Regions from separate parts of the Homo sapiens genome. Here region 1 is linked to region 2. The links are contacts of gene promoters, found by promoter capture Hi-C in blood cells and fetal thymus (Javierre and others, 2016). All regions are on one chromosome and are shown on one strand. Each heading gives the region's core, a stretch centred on a gene start or on the middle of the fragment in contact. The rest is flanking DNA. Distances are from core to core; before and after follow the strand shown.

Region 1 (5,353 bases), core at 708-3,207, 260 kb before region 2:
ACAAGTCTTTGCATCTGCTGTGCTCTCTTCAGAAGTATCCTCCTCAGTGTCCTCAGCCATAAAGAAGGCAGGTATCTTCTCTGCCAGGCTAGTTTAGGGCTCCTTTCCTTTGCTGTCATAACCCTTTGAGGTTCTATCATGCTAGATTACAGTGTCAGGTTGAATTTTTTTTTTTTAACTAGGCGAGTTTCTTAAGAAAAGGAATATTGTGTTATTTATTTCTGTATTCTCAGTGTCCAGGACCTATGTAATAATTGGTGTTCAATAAATGTTTGCTTAAAAAGGGAATAAATAAATGAATGAGTGATTCAGTCATTTGAAAAGTCTTTAGTGAGTGCCTACCATGTGTTTAGTATAATGCTAGCCACCACCGTGGCCACAAAAGAAATAAAAGACCTATAATACGTCCTTAAGGGCCGGGTGCAGTGGCTCACACCTGTAATCCCAGCACTTTGGGAGGCCAAGGCAGGCGGATCATGAGGTCAGGAGTTTAAGACTAGCCTGGCCAATATGGCAAAACCCTGTCTCTACTAAAAACACAAAAATTAGCCAGGCGTTGGTGGCACGTGCCTATAGTCCCAGCTACTCGGGCGGCTGAGGTAGAAAAATTGCTTGAACCCGGGAGATGGAGGTTGCAGTGAGCCAAGATCGCGCCACTGCACTCCAGCCTAGGCAACAGAGTGAGAGTCCATCTCAAAAAAAAAAAAAAAAAAAAGTCCTTAAGGAATTTTAGTTGGGAAAACAAGACCTGCTCAGGAAAACGGATTATAGAACAATGCAATAAAGAATCAAGTTGCTGAAGAGCACTGCACACACAGATCTCTGTTCAGATTCTGGCTGTATGATCATGTGCAAGCCCCCTAAGCTCTCTAGGCTTCAGTTTCCTCATCTGGAAAATGGAGATAATTACCAGATGTGTTGAGTTCGAGGTACTATTGGCATACAGTACTAATCATTAAACAATGCCACTCCTCTGGACAATATTTTATAGAAGTTCACAAAGCTGATTCACGTCAAAGCTGATTCACATTCTTTATCTCATGTGATCAACCCTGTGAAACAGGGATTATAGCATAGCATTTATGGCAGATTGTAAAAATGACCACAGATTATCCCCTTCCCTCTACCCACACCTTTTGAAAGTGCTTTTGCACTCTGAGTCTGGTTTGGCTTTGCGATGACTTGAAACATGCTTGAGCACGGAGGCTTGTCTGCTCTCTCTTTTTTTTTTTTGAGATGGAGTCTCGCTTTGTCACCTAGGCTGGAGTGCAGTGGCGTGATCTCAGCTCACTGCAACCTCTGCCTCCCGGGTTCATGCGATTCTTCTGTCTCAGTCTCCTGAGTAGCTGGGATTACAGGCATGCACCACCACACCCAGCTAATTTTTGTATTTTTAGTAGAGACGGGGTTTCATCATATTGGCCAGGCTGGTCTTGAACTCCTGATCTCATGATCCTCCCACCTCAGCCTCCCAAAGTGCTGGGATTACAGGTGTGAGCCACTGCATCTGGCCTGTCTTCTCTTGTTAAACTTGGAATCTTTAGCCCGCCAAGTCAATGAGCCTAAGCTAGCCTGCTGGAAGATGAGAGGCTATATGGAGGAGCATCAGGGTGCTCCAGCCAACTGCCAGTCACCAAATATGTGATTGAGCCAACTTACCAGCTATCCACAGACCCATGCATGTGGGAATCCAGCATAGATCAGCTAAATTGGCCAAGATCAAAACTGTGACCTGTATAAATATACTGTACCTTAGAACTGTGAACTAAACAAAATGATTGTTGTTTTAAGCCACTGTGTTTCAGGGTGGGTCATTTTATAGCAAAAGCTCACTGAGACAGAGATCCAGAGCAGTAAAGCTTTGGAGCTAAGCAGTCTGAGTTGGAAAGACAGCTTCTCCCACTTTCTAGCTATATGGCCTTGGGCAAGCCACTCAATTTCTCAGAGCTTCAGTGTCCTCATTTGAATAATGGGGGTAATGGTAGTGCCCATTTCCTGGGGTTGCAAGAATTCAATAAGATGATAGATGTCTGACATTAGCTTGTATGAAGCTTGGCTCAGCCTAAAGGGAGCTGTTGTTGCCATTGCTCCATTGTTCAGATGAGTAAACTGAAGATGAGAAAACTAAACTCCCAGGTGTTTGGTCACTTTCCCCAAGGTCAGTCAGCCAGAAAATGACTGAACTTGGGACTCACAGTCAAGACTTCTTAATTCCTACCAAGTGTAGGATTCCTAATAAGACTAGTGGGGTGACTGGCAGGGGGTGGGGAGGGACATTTATTGTCTACCTGGTGACAAATTTCCTTGTGTCCTGATTTCAGTAGGAAGCCAAAATAGGCTGGAGGTAATGAATAATCAAACTGAAGTTCTACGAAGATTAGTTGGTAGCACAAAGTACAACTCACTGGCAGGCACTGGCAGTTCCAGCCCTTCATTCTCTGAATCCAATGTCTTATCAAGTCGGATTTTCTTGTACTGTTTCTCAAATCCACTCATTTCTCTCTCTTTTTTTTTTTTTTTTACCTCAGCCCTTGCCCCTGTTCCTGGAGCTGTGCAATGGCTTCCAGCTTTCTTGGCGACTCCCACCGCAATCCTCTTTCCTCTCCTCTCGTCCTTCTCCAGCCACACTTTTAGCTCTGTGGCAACACATGCCTGATGCCTACCAGAGGTCAGATTCAGCTTGTGGGCTTTACCTTGGAGCCGGCTTCATGGTTTCCAGGTATTGGGATATAAGGCCTCCATGTGCCTGACACCCCAACCATCAAATTAGGATATTGGAGATGTCCCCAGCAAAGACTTTCAGAGCTGACCCTTTATAAGGGTGGCACCTAAATCCTACTGAAGGCCTGTAGGTACATACCATCAGTGAGCAGCAGATGGCAGAGTCACCTCTCCTTTTGCTATCTCCCATTAGGAGTTATTGCCGCTCCTTCCTCCATGAAGAATAACAATAAAGATAGGACCTCAATACACAATTAGAAAACGCTCTGTATGAAAAAGTTTAATTGAATTAATTGCCCAAATTTAAAGAATAAGGGATGTCCTAGTAAAATCATATTTCAGGCTTTTAAAAAATCCAAATATCTTGTGCTCTACCATGGTGAGCCTTGGTCCTTATCATTCCCTGTGTTCTCCCAACACTGAGGCCAAGTTATTTTTGCCATTGATCAAGGTGGTTGTACTATTATTTTTCTTAAAACTTTTTTTTTTTTTTGAGACAGGGTCTCACTCTGCCACCCAGGCTGGCGTGCAGTGACACAATCACAGCTTACTGCAACCTCCATCTCTTGGGTTCACGCTATCTTCCCACCTCAGCCTCCTGAGTAGCTGGGACTACAGGCACGTGCCACCATACCAGCTAAGGTTCATATTTTTTGTAGAGGCAGGGGTCTCCCTATGTTGCCCAGGCTGGTCTTCAACTCCTGGGCTCAAGTGATCCACCTGCCTCGGCCTCCCAAAGTGCTGAGATTATCGGCGTGAACAACTGCACCTGGCCTAAACATTTTTTTTAATGTGTGAAATATTTATTGATCATGTCTTTAACAAAAGTAAGAAAATTCTGGGCATGGTGGCTCATGCCTGTAATCCCAGCACTTTGGGAGGCTGATGGGGGTGGATCACTTGAGGCCAGGAGTTTGAGACCAGCCTGGGCAACATAGCAAGACCCTGTCTGTACAAAAAATTACAAAAATTAGCTGGAAGTGGTGGCACATGCCTATAGGTCCAGCTACACAGGAGAAGGAGGTAGAAGGGTTGCTTGAGCCCAGGAGGTTGAGGCTGCAGTGAGCCAAGATAGCACCACTACACTCTGGCCTGGGCAATAGAGTGAGACCCCATCTCAAAAAAAAAAGGAGGTGATAAATTATAAGTGAATAAAATGTAATTGAATAAATGAAACGGAGGTTGTAGGCATTTGAGCTTGTCCCCTCTAATCCAACCGCTCTCCCTGCCTAGCCTCCAATCTCCAACTCCTGCTTTTTTGTATGAGATAGCTGAGACCCAGAGACACAGAATAAATTGTCCAAGGTCACAAAGGTAGGAAGTGGCAAAGCCAGGAGCAGAAATCATGTCTTTGGACTCTGTCTCCCCTGCTTCTTCCATATATCCTATGACCACAGAGCTTAACAAACAGTTGTTGAATTGATGACAGGAGGCCTAGTGTAGGGGGAAGAACATTAAGTTGGCATAAGGAGTTCTAGATTCTAGTCTTAACTGTACCACTGACTGGCTGTGTGACCTTAAGCAAGTCACTTTCCTTCTCTGGATCTCATTCTCTACATCAATGTATAAGGAAGATTAAATTCAGCACTGAAGGTTAACTGGGAAGTGTGTCACATTAGCCAATTATAGCCCTTTTGTTCTGGGACTAAGAACTGGGCCCCAGAGAAAATAGTTAAGTCCTCATGTCTTTTAACAAAAGTAAGAAAATTCTGGGCGTGGTGGCTCATGCCTGTAATCCCAGCACTTTGGGAGGCTGATGGGGGTGGATCACTTGAGGCCAGGAGTTTGAGACCAGCCTGGGCAACACAGCAAGACCATGTCTGTACAAAAAATTACAAAAATTAGCTGCAAGTGAATCCAGCTAACAGAAATCAATATTGTCTTATTTGAATAAGAAAAAAATTTAAGATAATTTTCTGTAACTCATGGAGTCACCAGAAAGCCTGAAGAATTAGAGTCAACAAATGGGCAGAAAATGAAAACATATGCCCACACAGAAGCTTGTGTATGAATGTTTATAGCAGCATTGTTCGTAATAGCCAAGACATGGAAATAACCCAAATGTCTGTCAACAAATGAATGGATAAACAAAACATGGTATACAATAGAATATGATTCAGCCATAAAAAGGAATGAAGTACTGATACATGCCACAACATAGATGGACCTTGAAAACATCATGCTAAATAAAATAAGACAGTTGCAAATGGCTACATGCTATATGATTCCATTCATGTGAAAGTCCAGAATAGGGAAATTTGTACATCAGTAGTTGCTCAGGGCTGGGGAGGGGTGGGGGTGTGGGTGGGGGTAGGAAATGATAGTTAAAGCATATGGATTTTTTTTGAGGTAATAAAAATTGGCTATGGTGATAGTCTCCCATATTTGTAAATACACTAAAAGTCATGGAATTTGACACTTTAAAAGGGCAAATTGTAATACATGTAATAGCAAAAACTGCAATTATTTTTGCACCAACCTAATATTTCAATAAAGCTGTTTAAAAAATGGCAGAGACTAAAGGAGCCAAGACAGGTATTACCTTAGCCCAAATCCTGCTATGGAGCCAATTCAGTAAAGACACCACTGCCACCTCTATCCCTACCCTGAACCCTGGACCCAGAGGCCACCC
Region 2 (5,129 bases), core at 1,554-4,053:
TCCTACTGTTGCTGAAACAAATGACCACAAACACAGTGGCTTAAAACAACACATATATTGTCTTACAGCCCTGGAGTTCCGAAGTCTGAAATGGGTTTCACTGGACTAAAATCAACGTGTCAGCAGGTCTCTGTTCCTTTTGGAAGCACTAGAGGAGAACCTGTTTCCTTGCCTTTCCAGCTTCTAGAAGCGGTTCACAATCCTTGACTGGTGGCCTCTTCTTTCATCTTTAAAGTCAGCAATATAGTACTAAGTATCTTTAAATCTTTCTGACTTTGCTTCCATTGTCACATTTCCTTCTATGACTTTTAAGGACCCTCATGATTGCATCGGGACTACCAAGATAAACCAGCATAATCCTCCAATGTCAAGATCCTTAACTTAATCACATCTGTAAAGTCTCTTGTGCCATGTAAGGTAACACAGTCATGGGTTTTGGGAATCAAGACATGCACATCTTTGGAGGGAGGGCATGATTCTGCCTACCACAGTCCCTAATCTTCTATGGTCAGAATACCTTCTATGGGAAGGCTACTCAGTTAGAAAGGGTTTGTGCAAGCTAGGAGCCTTGAAGCTTAAGCTTCAAAACCTTCTAGGTAAATCTGCCTCTGGTATTGATTAAGAATATGGAATCAGGATCCACATGACCTGGGTTCAAGTCCCTTCTCTACCACTTACTATGTATGTTGATTGAATTGATGTTACAGATTGGGTTTTCTAGAAGCAGAGGCACAGCTGGAGTTTGAGGTGCAAGATGTTTATTAGAGATCAGCATCTACGAAAGGGAAAGGAAGCAGGAAAAGGCAGAGGAAGAAGTCAAAGAGGCTTGACAAAGCCTTGATCAAGGTGGCAGGTGCGCTGGAGCTAGTATTTCCTGTAAGAATTGTCTCACGATGGGCCAAAATGGCTAGGCCTTGATTCCCTCACCTTGCTCCATTGCTGGATTAGGGCTGTTCCAGGAAGGACATTTCCCTAAGCGAGACTGCTCTCTGCTATAGGACAGACCCTAAAGCAGCTGACCACTGGATACTCTTCTCATCACATACCCTGCAGCTGTGCAACAAGTCCTTCTTCGAAGGGGGATCTGCATGTTACATCTCATGTCTACACAAGCAGTGGTGTGCTGGAGCTGGCTCACCCCAGCTCACAGGAGTTGTTGGCATCTTTATCCAACCACAGTCAGTGGTGACATTTTTGCATGTCGAAATTAGCCACTGTGGGAGAATTGACACCACAGAAATTGGCAAATGCCACAAACCAGAACTTTATTTTTTTCCTGGAGAGCTGGTTTACCAGCACACCTCGAATGTGGTCCACAAGTGATTAACACTGAGTAGGTTAATGATTGTCCCTACAATTCAGTCTTCTCATCGGTAAAGTGGGGCCAATAATACTGTAAGAATACTAATATTACTTAGGCTATAGGGTCAGCATGAGAATTAAATGAGTTAATACATGTAAAATACTCTGGACAGCGATTAAATGAGTTAATATATGTAAAATACTCTGGATGGCGACTGCCACACAGGAAACACCCGGTAAGTATTAACTACTATGTTTACTGTTGCCATTGTTATTACAATTATTGCTACCTTAAAAACTTCCACTGGATTTTCATAGAGGACAAGCACCTAAATTTCTTAGTATGACATGCAAAGACCTTTCACAATCTGATAGTTTCAAGCACAAGAAACTTTTCATCATTTCTGGAACTCAAACTGTTTTCCACCTCCAAACCTTGTCACGCCCATGTACCTTCTGCCAGGAAAGCCCACTCCTCCCTTGCCTGTCAACTTCCAATTTTTTTCATCCTTTTGAACCAGCACCCATCACCTCCTCTCTGATGCCCTCTCCACCCACTACATGAGGGTTCCTTCTTCAGTGTTGCCATTGCATATTGCACAACCCTCAGTTACTCTGACAGCACTTTATTGTGATTACTTGTTTACATAACTGTCTCCTCCTTTGAGTCCAGGATTGGATCTGCTATTTCTCTGTGTAGGCAGCACAGTAACACAGGTACTAATAAATATTTGTTGCATGAATGAACATTGCCTGGGAAATGCATAAGAGGGGGGAAATAGAGTACATAGCCTAGTAGGCTATAATAATAATAATAATATTTTTATTTGCTTAAGTGACTCTAAGTATATTGTGTAAAGCAGTGACTTTAGGACCCCAGAGCTTCAGGTTCTGTAAGTCCTAGATTTGTCATATACTCACATCCTGACACAGTCCTACTTATCCTTCAGATGGCTCAGATGTCACGCTCTCTGTGAGGGTTTTCCTCCCAGCTGTCCTCTTGCCGCTCTTTGCCTGCGCACCTATTCACATACGCATAATTGACTCTTCTGGACGTCCCTGTGGGGATCCAGTGGTGTTTGTGTATTCCCACTCCATGGTACAGAGGGGCGGATATTTTGGGGATCCTGTGAGCGTGGTGTTAACAATATTTGGGGATAGTCACAGCCTTAGACCTGTGAATTCATCGCTCACCCTGCCTCCGCCTCAATTTCCCCTAGTGTGATGGGCACAGTGGAAACACCTTCCCAGGGTCGCGATTTAGTGGAGGGCGGCGGAGACTGATGTTGCAGGAAGCCCCCACGCATTCCGAGGAGCTGAGGAATAGAGAGCGAGGTGAGGCGTCGAAACAAGGAAGGAGTCAGGGGGCGTGGAGCGAGACTGGGCGGTGGACGGGACGGGCCGGGCCGGGGCCAGAGGGCGGGGCCTGAGCCGGGAGGGGGCGGAGACAGGGGCGGGGCAGGCGAGGGCGGGAGCGGCTGCCGCCGCGCGGCCAGGACTGTCTGAGGGGAAGTTCGCGAGCGCTGGCTATGGGTCCTGGGGCGCGGCTGGCGGCGCTGCTGGCGGTGCTGGCGCTCGGGACAGGAGACCCAGAAAGGGCTGCGGCTCGGGGCGACACGTTCTCGGCGCTGACCAGCGTGGCGCGCGCCCTGGCGCCCGAGCGCCGGCTGCTGGGGCTGCTGAGGCGGTACCTGCGCGGGGAGGAGGCGCGGCTGCGGGACCTGACTAGGTGAGGGCACGACGAGTGGGAGCGACCGAGGGGCCTCAGTGGGATACACTGTGCCGCAGGGTGGGGTGACTCAGGTTGAGTGTGACCCCAGGCTCATTGTCATGCTGCGTGGGACCCCAGACCCACTGTCGCACCGTGCGACTGAGACATTGTGGCATGGGGTGGGGAGTGGCTCTGAGGGCCAGTGTGACCCCCTAGACCCATTGTCACCCTGTGTGGGACCCTGACACTCCGTGGCATGAGGTGTTGGCGAGGGTTGGGTCACACTGGGACTGCAGACTCCATCACACACATAGTGGCACCCCCCATATCCAGCGTCACACAGCAAAGTTGATACACTGTGGAAGAGCGGGGCGGGGTGACTCTAGGACCTCACAATGTGCTGTGCAAAGCTGTGTGAGCCCCAGGCCCTGTGTCACACTGACACAGACACAGTGGACGGTGCTGTGACAGAGACACTGTGAGAGTGACATGGAGAGAATACGGTGACGCTTTAGCTACGCAAGTATTGACCTTTCAAGGGGGGATCGTGAAACACCGCATGACCTAGTGAGCTGATGTTTAGTGTTAGGAGTCAGGTGACAGTCTTCCACCATATGTGAGGTTTACATGTCATTGGGACTGGATGGGCACGACACTGTGGATATCATACTCTGCATGTGAATGATGCTGAGTAACTGTACAGGTCGCTATATGAATAATGCTTCAGTTCATTAATTCATACAACACATATTTTTGAGTGCCTACTAAGAGCCAGGCAGTGTTCCAGGCAGTGGGGATAAAATGGTGATCAAGAGCCAACTCTGCCCTCGAGGAGTTTGGGTCTGTAGCACCATGACTGTTAATCAGAGATGTCCACTGCCGTCTACGTCTTCAGTTCTTCCTTCTCTTTACACATGTAGAAGCTCTCTAAATACTAAATAAATGATAACTGAGATGTTATATGTGTGTCAACATATTTGATATCAAAAAAGCACTGTGAAAAAACATACTTGATGCAGAAGATACTGAGTGTAGCACACAGCAGTGGATGCTCAGCTAATATAGTTTTGGGGTACAGTCAACAAACTCTAGTGCTACACACTGTGGCATAAAAGGTTGTCAGACTTGGGATGCTGAGGCACCATAGTCATGTATCGACTTAGCAGTGTCCAACTGACAAAAATGAAAGATAAATGATTGTATATGATACCATCTGTATGAATATGTGCTGCGCCTTCTCTGCCTGGGACATCAAGAAGCCTACAACACTGACAGAGTGGTTATGACCACGTCACTATTTGGATATATTAATATTGTACTTATATCATGTGACCTTATCATTGAGCAAAGACAGCACAATGCACTGCTTTTAAAACTTTGCGTGAGTGTGTGTGGTAATAATACTGATTCTGGGGTGACATGAGAAGAAGGTATGTGGAATGGGGAGTGACTCTGAGGTCCAGTGTGACCCCCAAACCCATTGTCACCCTGTGCGAAACTTTGTGACCCCATGACTGTGAGAGAGAGCTATGTAGAAGAGAAGCATTTTGTGGGTGGAAAGTATTTGCGAGAGATCTTGTTAATAGTGACTGAATGAGCTAATGTGGTGCTTGTCCTTAAGTATGTGGCTTGCGTATAAACAGCTTGAAATAGTGTGACAATATACAATATAGGTATGTATTAATTTTAACAATAAATGAAGATCATTTCAATAATTATTGTCACTCTTTGGAATAGCATAGTTGTCTAGTATTCTATGGGTCCATGTTGACCGAGCCAAATGTTTTCTTTTTGTTCATAGCCCAGAGTCATTGGAGTCCAAGCTTATTAGTGGAAATAGGACAGAATTTTTTCTCTTTGATTTCAGAGCCCAGCATTCTCCCTGCTACCCATGCTTGTTCTCATACCAGTAATCTCTTTGGGTAGCTCAGATGGAGACGGGAGTGGGGGGTCAAAATCCCCCTGCTGGTCTTTCAGGTTACATTCTCAGAAGAGAGCACTTGAAGCATTTTGGCCAAAGCAGCTGGCCAACCCCATTCCACCATGCTGGTCTCCTTCACTGTCTTTCCACCACTGTCATTATCACAACTTTGTCACAGCAGGAGGTCTCATACAA

What was found. Contacts are between HindIII fragments. The CHiCAGO score rates a contact against its expected background, and 5 or more counts as called.
Region 1: a contact is called between a fragment that was not itself captured here and the fragment with the promoter of P4HA3 in region 2, in 4 of 17 cell types (M1 macrophages, megakaryocytes, M0 macrophages and 1 more). The highest score is 9.0, in M1 macrophages.

Annotation. Positions count from the first base shown.
Region 1 is chr11:74,568,229-74,573,581 of GRCh38, reverse strand. No RefSeq gene overlaps it. Among named protein-coding and RNA genes, the nearest start is that of POLD3, 22 kb to the left of the region's middle. The HindIII fragment of the contact is 192 bases long and covers 1,862-2,053 here.
Region 2 is chr11:74,309,314-74,314,442 of GRCh38, reverse strand. P4HA3 (prolyl 4-hydroxylase subunit alpha 3) reads left to right here and starts at 2,803. Exons shown (of 13, transcript NM_182904.5): 1 at 2,803-3,031. The coding sequence starts at 2,832. It overlaps P4HA3-AS1 (P4HA3 antisense RNA 1), which reads right to left and starts at 3,081. Exons shown (of 7, transcript NR_120556.1): 1 at 2,994-3,081; 2 at 2,497-2,618; 3 at 2,224-2,324. The HindIII fragment of the contact is 4,256 bases long and covers 583-4,838 here.